Linked DNA regions of Homo sapiens: all the other regions are linked to region 3. The links are contacts of gene promoters, found by promoter capture Hi-C in blood cells and fetal thymus (Javierre and others, 2016). All regions are on one chromosome and are shown on one strand. Each heading gives the region's core, a stretch centred on a gene start or on the middle of the fragment in contact. The rest is flanking DNA. Distances are from core to core; before and after follow the strand shown.

The links. The method cuts DNA at HindIII sites, captures the fragments that hold promoters and counts their contacts. A CHiCAGO score of 5 or more calls a contact.
Region 1: the fragment with the promoter of RNF175 here is called in contact with the fragment with the promoter of GATB in region 3 in 1 of 17 cell types (naive B cells); the score reaches 7.7 in naive B cells.
Region 2: the fragment with the promoter of TIGD4 here is called in contact with the fragment with the promoter of GATB in region 3 in 2 of 17 cell types (non-activated CD4 T cells and naive CD8 T cells); the score reaches 5.4 in non-activated CD4 T cells.

What each region holds. Positions count from the first base shown.
Region 1 is chr4:153,757,773-153,762,129 of GRCh38, reverse strand. RNF175 (ring finger protein 175) reads left to right here and starts at 2,106. Exons shown (of 9, transcript NM_173662.4): 1 at 2,106-2,333. The coding sequence starts at 2,268. The HindIII fragment of the contact is 8,763 bases long and covers 1-4,357 here.
Region 2 is chr4:152,777,022-152,781,754 of GRCh38, reverse strand. It overlaps TIGD4 (tigger transposable element derived 4), which reads left to right and starts at 2,025. Exons shown (of 2, transcript NM_145720.4): 1 at 2,025-2,273. ARFIP1 (ARF interacting protein 1) reads right to left here and starts at 1,801. Exons shown (of 9, transcript NM_001025595.3): 1 at 1,529-1,801. RefSeq lists enhancers at 1,524-1,573, 1,764-1,923, 2,374-2,583. The HindIII fragment of the contact is 8,897 bases long and covers 420-4,733 here.
Region 3 is chr4:151,759,095-151,763,510 of GRCh38, reverse strand. GATB (glutamyl-tRNA amidotransferase subunit B) reads left to right here and starts at 2,504. Exons shown (of 13, transcript NM_004564.3): 1 at 2,504-2,704. The coding sequence starts at 2,529. RefSeq lists an enhancer at 2,509-2,788. The HindIII fragment of the contact is 14,733 bases long and covers 1-4,416 here.

The sequences.
Region 1 (4,357 bases), core at 857-3,356, 2.0 Mb before region 3:
TCCCATTCTCAGCAATGGCAGCACTGTCTGCCCAAATGCTAGACTGCCCAAGCCACATGCCTGGGCACCATCCTTGGAGATGAGTCAAGTACAGTAGATTCTATTACCTAGATCTCCCATCCCCAAACACATCTCTCCATCTCCCCTCCACTCTGTCCCCGCACACACTCTCACCACCAAGGCCACTGTCATCCTTAGAGCTGAAACTACAGCAATAGCTTTCTGGCTGGTCTCTCTGTCTTGAGTCATAGTCATAGCCCTCTTCCCCACTCTTGAAGCCAAAAGGCAAGTCTGGTAATGTCATTTTCTTGCTTAAAACTCGGTAATGGCTTCTCATTCTCCTGAGGCTACAGTCCAAACTGTTTAATATGATTTATGTGGATCTGGCCCTTGCTGACCTTCGCAGCTACTTCCTTGAGAGATTAAGAACCCAGACCATGAAGTCAGTTTTGTCTGGGTTCAAATTCCCACTGCCCCACCTATTAGCTTCAAAACTTGAACAAACTTCTGGACCTCTCTGTGCTTCAGTGTTCTCCCGTGTAAAACACGGACGGTCACAATGCCCACCTCACAGGATTGTCAGGAAGACTGAATGAGCTAACACAGGTAGAGTGCTCAGGACGGCACCTGGCACACGGTAAGCATTCTATCAATGTTAACCATGATTTTTATTTCTCCAATTCATTATGCCTTCTCCAGCATTCCGGCCCTTGCATCCACTGTTCTCTCCATCTCAGACACTCTTTCCAACACACTCTGATCATGCTACAAGGTAGTCTTCAGATGTAGGTAACAGCCCCAGCGGCACCTGAAAACTTGTTCAAAAGACAAATGCTCAGGCTCCACCCTAGACCTACTATATTAAAAACTCTAGGGCTCAACTCCAGCAATCTGAAGATTTTTGTTTTGTTTTTTGATAGAGTCTCGCTCTGTTGTCCAGGCAGAAGTGCAGTGGTTCCATCACGGCTTACTGCAGCCTGAACCTCCCGGGCTCCGGCGATCCTCCAGCCTCAACCTCCTGAGTAGCTGGGGCTACAGGTGTACCACGCCCAGCTCACTTTTGTATATTTTATAGAGATGGGGCTTCACCATGTTGCCTAGGCTGGTCTCAAACTCCTAGGTTCAAGCAATCCGCCCGCCCTGTCCTCCCAAAGTGCTGGGATTAAAGGCATCAGCCACTGTGCTTGGCCAGCACTCTGAGTTTTAACAAACTCAGCATTCCTCCATAGGATTCTGATGCCCAGTTAAGGCTGGAAAACCAAGGCACCATCCGTGATAAATTGTACTTAGATGCTTATTTTTCTCTATCCCCTGTTAGGCTCTACGTTCCACAATGGCAGAGAAATGTCCATCTTGGTCTGTTCACCTCCTTTGTAGGTGTTGACAAATACGAGCCATCACAAACTGGAAAGGGGTAAGCTGTATTTCGTAGGACACATCATCTAATTCTGTGCTCCTCTTTTCTGTTTCCCCAAATCAACACCCAGGTATTTCTAAAGGCTTGCCTAAACGTTCCAGCTTGTTCTCAACCTTGAAGCCAGGCTTAGGCCTAAGTTGTAAAGGCGGGAGGGGAGACCCTGGAGGTAGAGGGGCAAAGGCAAGATGCTTGCGTCGCAGGGGCCCTGCATGGCCTGGAGCAGCATAGGGGCCAAGATGGTCTGCGCTCTCCCTAGATTGGAGTTTCTCTCCTTCATCATCTTTGGAGGAAGCACAGATAACTGAGGAAAGTCTGTATCTGCACAGCCACCCGAACTCCTGCCTCCTAATAAACACCTCTGAGGGAGAGGAAACTCTCTCTCTCTCTTCTCTTCCTCCCCAGCACCCCTCGCCCCCCCACCGCCATTTCTCACTCCTCTACTCCCCTCTCTCTCCCTACCCACCTCTGACCCCTCCTCCAGTCCTGCCGCCCGGTAACAAAACCGGGGTTCCCGCCACACGCACCCGGTAGGGCTCAAGACGCTTTATCGGCGACAATGGCTGGCTGAATGGGAGGCCTGAGGTTCTGAAGGAACCGGGGTGCTGGCGACCGGGACCTCGAGGCCGCTGCTGGGGAGGACGCTGGCCAGCGTGCAGGGGGCGGAGGCGGGGCGTGCCGGGAGGCTCCCATCTCCCGCCCCGCACAACCCGGGCAGGGCCGCCGCTCCGCCGCCGCCGCAGATCCGGCTCTCACCCTCGGCTCCCGAGGCCCCGCGGCGCCTCCTTCTGCGGACTCTGCGGGACCCTCCCCGGCAGGCGCTGTGCCCTGGAGAAGGCACAGTGGCTCAGGCATGGCCGCGGGGACGGCGGCGCGGAAGGCAGCGCCGGTGCTGGAGGCCCCCCCGCAGCAGGAGCAGGTACTGGCGCGGGGGCGCGGGCGTGGGGGACGCCAGGCCGGGGTCCCGGGGCTCACGCTGGTGCCGGGCAGGCTGCACAGACTGGTCTCCAAGACCCCGGGCCCCACCGGGGAGAACCGGCCCTGGAAAGACGTGGGGACGGACGCATGACCTTCTGGAAGATGCCACCGTGCGGGGTGCCAGTCCCTCCTCCACTCCCTCCCTCCCCACTTCTGTGCCCTCCCCGCTACCTTCCTTTCCTCCTTCTGATCCTCTTCCTTCGCTCCATCCCTCTTCTCGCATCCTCGCACTTTCTCTTCCAGGCTCACCCCTTCCACTCCCGCCCTCCTTTGTGACCGCCTGTGCCCTCCTCCCTCCTCGGCGGAAGCCCCCAGAGCCCAGGGTCAAGGTCGTAAGCTGCGAGAGAGGGGAAGGGGTGTACTGCAGGCTTTTGGCTAGACCGCCCTGGTTCTCAAACTCGAGTGTCATCAGAATCACTCGGAGGGCCTGTTACCACGCAGACTGCTGGTCTGTGCCCAGGGTTTCTGATTCAAGATGTGTACCCTGATCGTCAGCTTGTCTTGCCTGGTGCTCAACCTAGCCCATTTCTGCTTCTGCTGGCGTCAATTGCAAACCCAATCTTAATTTATTCTTCGTTCATAGGACAATTCTTCTTAGGCTACATCCAGGTACCAGGAGGATTTGGGGGTGGAGGAGGGTAGGTCTTACCTGGAGGAACCCAAATCCCATCCGTAAAACGAGGACAAAAATAACTCTTAAGGGCAAAGATAACTCTTAAACAACAACAAAAATCACTCACAGAGCGGGTAGGAAGAGATTAATGTCCCAAAATAGGTTCAGGCAAAGAACTGTAGGATTTCTGAGAAGGGCTTGCTCCTGACTAACCCCCTTCTCCTCCAACCCGTGAGGGCGTGGCATTCGAGCTGGGTGTTGGGGAATGGACAGGATCTGACCTCATGGGCCAGAGAATTCTAGATGGAGGGAACAACAGTACCAAATGGCTTGGAGATTTTTTTTTTTTTAATATTGGGATGGATGGCCATGGGACAAGGCAGAGAGAGGGGACTGTCCACTCTGACTGCCAGAAACCTAGGGGTCAGGAATGCTTATAGCAAAAAATAAGGGTGGGCTAGGCTGTGGAGGGGCTTGTGTACCACAAAATGGGGAAACTTAAAATGAAACTCCATGACTTTCTTGCTGGTTTCAAACCCAGATTATCGAAAGGGAGGTTCTGAATTGATGAATGCATGCCAGGAGTGTCAGAGGATCTAGTACTGGTGGATTTGCTGCTGATCTTTGCTCTTCCTTAAGGCTGGCATCACTGCCTAGTCTGCTGCCCTCAGGAGGTATGGCCTCTCTGTTGAGGCTGCCCTAGGAGGGACTCACAGCTTTTCCCTTAATCCCATATGGCAAGACAGTGTGGTCCAGGAACCAGCAGCCAAGGCATTACCTGGGAGCCTGTTAAAAATGCAGTCTCAGTTCCCACGCCAGACCCACTGAATTGAAATCCGCATTTTAACCAGATCCCAGGGTGATTCATTTGCACATCAAAGTTCAAGAAGTGCTGGTTTCTTGACTTTACTAGAGCTAGGGATAAGAAAGTGAAAACAGAGATAGTTACTGACCAGCCTATTATCTGATAGCTTCCCTTTGGTTTGAACCTCACCCTATTTTATTTTCCTTCATCACCCTTATCACTACCTGAAGTATGTCTATGTGTGTATTTGATTGTCTAAGAACCTCCTTCAGCATGAAAGCTCCAGCAGAAAAGCCATGTGGTCTGCCTTGCTCGCTCCTGTATTTCCAGGACCTAGAACAGTCTCAGCAAACGGCAGGGCCTCAATAAATATTTATTGAATGAATAAATGAACAGTAACGTACAATCTTATGATGTAAGACCCTAACTCCAGCATACCTTACTGGACAAACACCATCTCCCTATTCCCCATCCTCCACCTCCCCAGCTACAACCCCTGGGGTCTTTTGAGCCTGCAACTGGTTAGGTATGTTTGAAACTCCTAAAA
Region 2 (4,733 bases), core at 776-3,275, 1.0 Mb before region 3:
CAGGGATTTAATCCACAAAATACATTAGAAATCTTTTCTCTTTTCTCAGATAAAAGTGTGTTAGACTTGGTAGTTGGGAGAAGACGTGGGTCATGCTAAGCAAGGAAAACAAAACAAAAAACACCACAGGACAAACGAAAGAAAAGCAGAATTAAGGCAGCAGTAAAATATAGTAATCTGTAGCCGCTCTGAGAGAACAGCAATGAAATGGCCAATTCGGCCGGGCGCGGTGGCTCACGCCTGTAATCCCAACACTTTGGGAGGCCGAGGAGGGAGGATCATTTGAGGTCAGGAGTTTGAGACCAGCCTGGCCAACACGGTGAAACCCCGTCTCTACTAAAAATACAAAAATTAGCTAGGCGGTAGTGGCGCCTACCTGTAAACCCAGCTACTCAGAAGGCTGAGACAGGAGAAAAGCTTGAGCCTGGGAGGTGGACGTTGCGGTGAGCCGAGATCGTGCCAATGCACTCCAGCCTGGGCGACAGAGTGAGACTCTGTCTCAAAAAAAAAAAAAAAAAAAGAAAAAAGAAAAGGCCAATTCCTGAAGCCTTAACAGACGGCTGACTTAAGGTAACCATTTCTGGTGCACATTTCTATGCCAATTAAGTTAATTAAATGGCAAACATGAACACACCCTTACAGGTGAAAGTATGAAAGCAAAAGTTTATGCGAAGTTCTGGATCTCTTCCGGCTTTTCCTTATCAAATAATAATGTAGTTAGATGAATTTTATACTTTAGGAGAAAACAGGGTAGGGGCGGGGGACAGAAATCCTAAGAGTGGCCAAAGGATCTGCAGGAAGTATAAAGTGTAAACTTTTTGAAATCAAAGGGCTCAAGAGGAAGGTAAGAACAAAACAAAGGAAGTAATAACAAAATAAAGTAAAAGGGAAAAACGTCTAGCATCTAAAAACTGTTTTTAAAAAATTATTTCCTTTTCCTAGACACGTAAACAGTAGTAACTTGGCAAACAGGAACGGAGCAGAAGACAATCGAACAACTCCCTTTCCAAAACTCCAGCATTCCTTAGTCAGGCTTGGGACATTTCACAGGCAAGACTCCTCTCTGCACCACTGCCAGATGAATCTCTCAGAGGGACTGTCACTATCTCCCTTCCTCCCACTGCGGGAGAGAGGAAGCTGGGGATGCAGGGAGAAGAGGGGAGAAATGAGGGTTGGACAGCAAGCCTGAAGGTGGCCCACTCCGACACTTTGTCAAGAAAGGTCCGGATTCTGGATCCTGCAACTCCTTTTCCCACCCAATGTATGCAAAGCCAAGAGAGTGCCTCCCTGCAAGGGCCGGTCCTACACCTTCACTCGACTGTTTCGGGGGCACACTCAGAGGGACAGAAGGAATGAAGGACAGAAGAAACCAAAGGCATAACACTTGGGCAGATACGGCACAGACTAAGGAGAGGCGTGCCCTGTGAAAGTTCGGAACGGTGAACCCGTAGGCAACGTGCCCGCCCCACCAGCCACCTCAAACCATCTTTCCCCCGCCTTTTCCCAGGCGAGCCAGCTCCGCCCTCACCTTTCTTAGGGTAACTCGGTAGCTTCTAAGTCGAGGCTTATCCTTTCCGCCGCTCTCTGGAATCGCCTCAACCCTGGCAAAAACTGAGCGGAAACGCGACCCGGACCTTTTCCTTCTTCCCCTTCCCCCACGCACCTCGGCTGCTCGGGGGCGGGGAGCAACTGCAGCTGTCACAAATTCACACTGACCAACCGCCGAGGACAGTCGGACCGGCGACCTCTCAACCCAGCCTCCAGAACCAGAACCAAGAGCAGCGAAGCCGGAAGTGAGGAGACCGGAAGTAGCGTTGTCCCTGGCCCTGGACGGCCTCTCTCTCCCTCAATCCGGCCTTGCCCGGCCACGTCTCGGTGGTGTCAGCGCACCTCCCACGAGGATCCCTCCGCCCTTCTCCGGGAGGCGGGCTACGCCCCTCCCTCTGCTGCCCTAGCAACCACATCCGGGACTCCGGCGGTGTCGTTGCCCGGGTAATTTTCTGGCAGCGACCTAATGCGCGCGGGGCCAGAGGCACCGGCTAGAGCTGGGAGCTTGCGGAAGGGCGCCCCTGCCTGGTCTTGAGAGGTCGAAGGTCTCCAGGAGGCCTCCGCCTCCCTCTTTTTCATTCACACACCCTAGCCTCACACGTTAGGAGGACCCCCCCAACAGACCGTGAGCTGGTGCCGGGAGGGTGGAGGTAGATGTACCTCACCTCCACGCTACCACAGAAGAGCGAAAGCTGCTTTCTCAGCCACCGGAGAGCACGAAGAAGGTTATTCCAGTCCCGGGGGGAAGGTGGGGGTGGTAGGGAGAATGCGAAGATAAGGCAGCAGACGGAATGCGGGCGCTGCCTCGCGCTGCCCCCGTGCCTGGGGAGCCCTCTCCCTTCAGAAAGGCTAGACCCCCGGGCCCGGCATCCCTGAGCTCTTACTTGCTCTGGATTTGTGATCGCTTTTTGCTTTTTGCTCGCTCTCTCACAGTAGATTCCTTGATACTTTTCTTTCCGGCTCCTCTTTCTTTTTCCGGATGACCGAGCTCTGCTTTCTTTGCTTGCCCCATTACTTCTTAAATAGATCATTGTTCTGTCACGGAAACTGCTGAACAATTCGCTCTCTCAGAGCCCTTCGTAGTTTCCTAAACGGGGCCCCAACCTGCACTACTCTCCCCATCCCCAGAGCTCAGTGGTGCGAAAGCGTGGCTCCCCCGTGGCGCTAGATAGACCTGAAGTTCATTTACACACTGTACCATACAGTTGGTCCATCACAGAATATCCCTTCGAACTGCTGGACTGCTTTTCCTTTGACAGCTTTGAATGCTCATTTTTACTCCCATTTCACTTGTAGAAATGCGAAGGGTAACTGTGCACACGGCGAGATTTACCCTTCTTTAGACCGTACTTCTCAGCTGCCTTTACTTGTCACAGTAGCTGACAAGATATTTTTAATGACTAATGCCCAAAGGCAGAGCTCTACCTCTACAGATTTCCAGGGAGTTTCAGTGTAGTGAAATATCCCTGGCAGGTATCTTCCCCAGATCTGTGAATAGTAAACACCTATGGCACCATAAATGTTTCCAATGTATAACAATATTGATTGAGCTCTCTAGGATACCACCTCTTAAAAAAATAGTACTGAAATTCCAAAACATAAATCTCTTATCTTAAGTGGTTCTGTCTTAAACAAAAGAAAGGAGCAAATATATATGCCAACCCACTCAAACTGTAACTTCAATTGTTATAGCTTACTGTGGATTTTTCTGTACAAAGCCATCTTGTTGGTTTGGAGACCATTAGTCTTCTCAATTATAAGAAAATAATCCCAATCTAAATTAATTACTGCTGTAATTGTGTAGGAACTGAGCAACTACAGAACTTGCAGCTAAGTACAAGTGTTGTTCCTAGGGTTTCAGAAGGGTGACTTGGAGGAAGTGTACGGTAGGACTCAGCGGTGCTTGAATGATGTGGACAATGAATACTAAATTGTTTTTGCTGGCTGTTATCTTAAAGATTCCTGCTAGCTGTCTCTTGAGTTTGGAGATGCTTAGCTTGACTAAAGTTAGTCTAACTATTAGACTGTCAGACTCTGAAGTGTTTCTTATTTTGGAAAGGTGAAGACTTGCTTTAGTTTGTTCATAGTTTCCTTGGCAGCTGCTGATGGTTTTGATGGAGATTCAGATGGATTTGGAACTAATGCTAACTTCTGCTTGGTGAAGATGCTAACCAAGTTAGATACTCTTCAGTGAATTCTGGTACTGTGTACGATTAATCCTCATCCACAGTATTACGCTGTGCAAGGCTATATATACACAGGATTAATCTTTCCATGATTTCCACTGCCCTGAAGGAAATTAGAATGTAGTCTGGCTCCAAGAAAACACTAGAAACTACTTCAGCTGGTGATGGAAAATAGTGGAATTCTATACATCCTTTGAGACAATGGAAGCAGCAAACCAGCGTTCTTTGGATTGGGGAATATTTTTGGTACTAACTGAAAAACATCATTTTAAGCCTGGCCCTGCTTAGAGGAGACTTGTTTTCTCTTCCCTCTCTCCCTCTCTTCCTTTTTTCCCTCCTTCCTCTTTTTCTTTCCTCCTTTCCTTCTTGTCTCCCTCCCTTCTCCTTCCTTCCTTCTTCCTCTTTTTCTTTCCTCCTTCCCTCCCTCCCTCCCTTCCTTCCTTTTTTCCTTTCTCCCCTCCTTCCTTCCTTTTTTTCTTCCTTCCTTCCTCCCTCCCTCCCTTCTTTTCTTCCTTTCTTCCTTTGCCCTAAAACTTGGGGGACCCTGCCTGCTCATTTTGTTTAGAATAGAAGATTACTACTTTTCTCTGAATTGTCATTTATTTTTAGAGAGGTAAGAAAAAAGGGAATAGCTGCCTTCCATATATACTTATGACATGGAGATTATCTACTCATTTAACTTTGCACTGCTATTGGCTGTTTATTTGGCTTTTGAAAAATCAGGTGCTATTTATTCATTGGGCTTGTGGGGAACTCTAGTAGCCCTGAATGGCATTTGTGGCATACTCAATGAAGTCTAATTCTTTATCCTGGCATTAAAGGCTTACCAAGATCTGGCCTCAATCTTGCAAATGAGCACTCTCTTATATACCTGAAGGAAAAGTGCTAATTTAGCCAACTAATAGAGATAGGTATAAATACCAATATAGACATAGATATGAAACTTTAGTTGCAAAGAAATGTTTAATATGCTTCAAAGTGCATATTTCCCTCTTCCAT
Region 3 (4,416 bases), core at 1,255-3,754:
ATCAGCAATAGTTCTGACAGATATCAGATTTGGCATGCAGCAGGAAGGCTAGAAATGGTCCCACAGAAGGCGGTTTGGTGGGAGTATGACCAGCTAAGGAGCAAGGCAGGGGGAGCACTCAGAAAACAGTGCTCCTGTTTTCACAAGGAAAACTACAGGCATTTCGGGAAATGACAAATAGTCTTGAGGGAGAGGACAGCCAAAGAGATGGTTATTGACAAGTCTCTATTTCCACGATTAGTTCTATAGGATTTTTGAAAGGGCAATGATTAGATAGAGACAAGATGCAGGAAACTGGCCGGTTTCCGTTCGTGAAAGGAAGCAAATACACTTACATGCGTAGGATTTTTATCTCCTCTAGTGGTGGGGTGGGGCCTTTGAGGCGATAGCCTATTACTGAATAATACCGCTTCAGAAACAAAGATGAGCTTCCCTTATAGCGCGTTTTACCCGTAAGATTAGGATTTTCATTAAATGTGTTGCTCTCCCTTACAGTGGTTTTCAAAACATTCCCAATCTTCCATTTGATGGAGTGAATCGCCTTTTAAGGATGCTGATTACCAGCGATGAGGTAACAAGTGTCCCCCTCTCTTTTTAGCTAGAGATACAAGATTCCATTCTCCTCTGTTGTCCTAACAAAAGTGAAGCCATTTTGTGCTCAGAGGCAACTCTCCTGACCCCTAGTCTGGGCCAGAAAAACCTGAGGAGCTAAATAAGTAAAAGAAAGCTAGCTTACCTAGAGTAAAGGTGGAAAACATGGAAACTCAGAGGGAAGACTCTAGTAAAGGATCTAGAGAATCATCTGAACCTTAAATAAAGGGCAATAATTAGAGAGAAATTTTGGAACAAGTCTCCACCACTCCCTTCCAGTCCCTGTCATTTTTGTCATTTTCATCCTTGGTCAAATGACTGATACTTCTGGTGTGGCAATTTAGAACAGTGATAGTGGATGAAAAAGTAGAAAAGATGGAAAAAATAAATGATGACAATTTTAAGGACAGTAACTAAAGTTTCTTTCTTCCATATGGATATGCAATTGAAGTGTATTAAAGGAAAAGATCAAAGGTTACAGCCAACTAATCAATGGATTATTGATCAATAACTGAAAATCTATCAATGTGAAGTATACAAAATATGCAGCTTTTCCCCTTGCCCTGCTCTATACTCAGAATTAGGCATCACTGATGTCTACTTGATTTCTCCTCTTGAATGTCTCCAAGGCAACCAAACTCATATGTTTTCTTTGCAAACCTGTTCCTTTTCTGGTTTCCTTATCTCGGTGGATAACTTCATCAGCCAGTTGTGCAAACCAGAAATCCAGGAGTTATTTGTTTCTCCTAGCCTTCCACCATCATATCCAATCCATCAGAGTCCTTCAATTTTACTTCCTATATCTATCTCAAACAGATCCATTTCTCTTTGGCTCTGCCACCACCCTAACTCATCATCTCTCCCCTAAACAATTACTGCTCCAAAGGGCATCCACTCCATCCTTTGTCAAATGCATTCTCCACACTGCACTACTTTATTCAACAAATATTTTTAAGGAACCTACTTTGTACTGTAGTGAATAAGACAGACGAGGAATTTGTGGAAATAGAAGATAAACATCAGGCAGTCAAAAGCACTACGAGGACAATCAAAGTCGGGTGATGAAATAGAGAGTGGCTAAATGACTATTCTAGACTGTGTTCAAACACAAGAAATCGGTGGCAGTTTTAACAAGGGGTATTAGTTTTGACACAGGAAAATGAAGGAAGTCCGCTGGGACGATGGTATCTGCTCCTAGCATATAAGGAGTGTGTTTCTGATACTGGCCAATAATAAAAAGGAGGTTAAAATGTACATGAACATTCAATCTAGGGCTGTTTGTCTCCAATTACCTCTGCTTAAACATAGCACTTACTACCTATATGGAAGTATCTTATTTTTGTTAACTTCTGTATGTCTCCCTTCTTTAGAATGTAAGCTCCATGAACATGCGGGCCATAACTGTCTTGATCTCTGCAGTAACTACAGTGCCTAAGAGAACTGAGCCTGGCATTACGGTAGGCATGCAAATAAGTATTTGTTGCATTAACGCACAAATTGCTGAGTGAAGCAGGAGAGTAGACAGAGAATATAACGGATTGGGTTTGGGGGCTGAGGAAGTCTCTGCTGAGCTGTCAAGGTCATTTACTTCCCCTTGCAAGGTTAACTGGGTTATAAAATCCCGGCCACGCTTTAGCACCAAGCATCAAGCGCTCACACTCTAACTTATACACACGCTCACAGCCACAAACCTCTCCAACTCCCCGCTAGGAGGAGTCACACCTCCCCACCCAGAAACCCTCCCACCCTCTCCTCTATTTCTCCTTCCCTCCCCTCTCCGCGGGGTTCCGGCAGGCTTCGAATCACAATGCTCGCCGGGAATAGTAGTCTTCCGGTCCGAGCCTATGGCGTTTTTAATGCATTTCCAGAACTACGCTTCCCAGGGAGCCTCGCGGCATAGTGAGGCTGAGTCACCTGACCAAGACCCTGGAGTTACAATGGCGGCGCCCATGCTGCGCTGGGGCTGCCGTGGAAGACGTTGGGCTTTCGCCCGGGTTGACGGTGGTTCTTGCCACCGAAGAGGGGCTCCGACTGGGTCCACATCCAACCAGATTAGGGGAGAGAGCTCAGTGGCTCAGCAGCCCCTCCACACGGCCCAGAAGACGAGGAAAGGGTATTCTGTTTCATACATTTCTGCCCACCTAACTGTGAGGTGGAACTGCAGGACTGGGGAAATAATGGCAATTACGGCCCAGCTTCTAGACGTTTTGGCTGACGGGAGGGCGTTGAGTTATAACCTGGAGCCCCGAAACCTAAATAAAAGCACAAACAGACTTTCTATCAACTCCGCCCCCATATATAAACCACTGTTTTCAAATAGATGTAGTTGGGGAATTCGCGAGTGTAAAATAGCAAATATTTTCTTGAAGGGTGCACAGACAGAAGAGTGGATTCGGTCATCTTACTAATAGCACTAGCAGTGGGGACGGTGACACGAGAAGCGGGATCATATTTAGCTGATTTTATTTAGCGCTAGTATGGGCTGGCAGCGTTCTAAAGGTAGAAAGGGAGCCTTTACCTACAAGCTCTTGGTAGTGGTGGGTTATTGTCATTAGTCAGAAAACACTAGCTATCTGTGCAGGCGTTTTATGTTGGAATATGTGTGACTAGACCTAGGAGGACGCAGCCAAAAGAAGAGATACTCCCCCTGGTTATATGGAGAGTTTTGCTTATTTGGCCAGATATCCCCTGAACAGCTGTTTATGCTTCATTATGTAAGAATTAAATAGTTTCTCTTTAAATACAGAAACATATGGCAAGTTTCTAATATTTTGTTTATTCTTTGAGACTAGTTGGCATTATTTTTACTTTCAGTTGGAGGAACAGAGGGAAATTGTCCAGAAAGAAGTATTCAGTTTTGTATTCTTTTCGTGAATTAGATTGTTTCCTTGTGAATGGAAAGTACATTTTTTCTCTCATGTAATGGAAATGCAAAAATACTTTGAATGGTGCTTTACTGCATGCAGAATTTCTAATGAGTTCCTACTTTAATTCCCCTCCCTTATGGGCTGTGTTTCCAAACTTTAAAAAGAAGGACTTATTCTTGCAGTACTTCAGATATAGAACTTTATATGTTGAAATGATTGAAACAAAACAAAACGATGTAAAATATGTATATATATATATATGTATATACACAAAATTACTTGGGAGAAGAGCAGGATAGGAACATACATGGATTTCATAGGGAATAAGCACATTTATAAGGACCTGGAGAGGCCTATGTACAGACCCAACAGAGTAGGACTGACCAGATAAGAGAGATTATTATAGCATTTAACAGCTTCTTAGATTTGATAGCAAATAAGCATTAAAAAAGTAACCTGAAATTAGGTCTCAGGAATTGAAAGTGATTTGGGGGACCAAAAATATGCCGCATCAGATGGTTTAGTGTGGTGGAGTTTTGCAAAATTTTTTTAAGAGTATCATTTAGTGGTGATTTATTGTATCTGTGTCTCTCTGGTTATTATACATGCAAACCAAAACATGGTTGAGAATTTCCTTTTTAAATAAGAGACGTGGAACTATTTATCATTATTTCTCTAGTAGTAGAATGTTGCCATTTATGTTAATTCTAGATAATGTGGGAAAGATCAGCTTTCATCATTTACTGAGTGATTACTTGATAAGTTACAGTTAATTTGTTAAATGCCGCTTTTCACTGAAGTCAGCCAAGCAGTTGTCACCTGATACCCATTTCTAAATTGTTTTAAGACGCCAAATTGTTCCTTTCTCTATAGCCTTCATGTTTATATCATCAGCCTCCTGATGCCATGTTGTAAATGAATTTTAGTTTGCCAATCTCAGTGTAGGCGCTTATTCTAA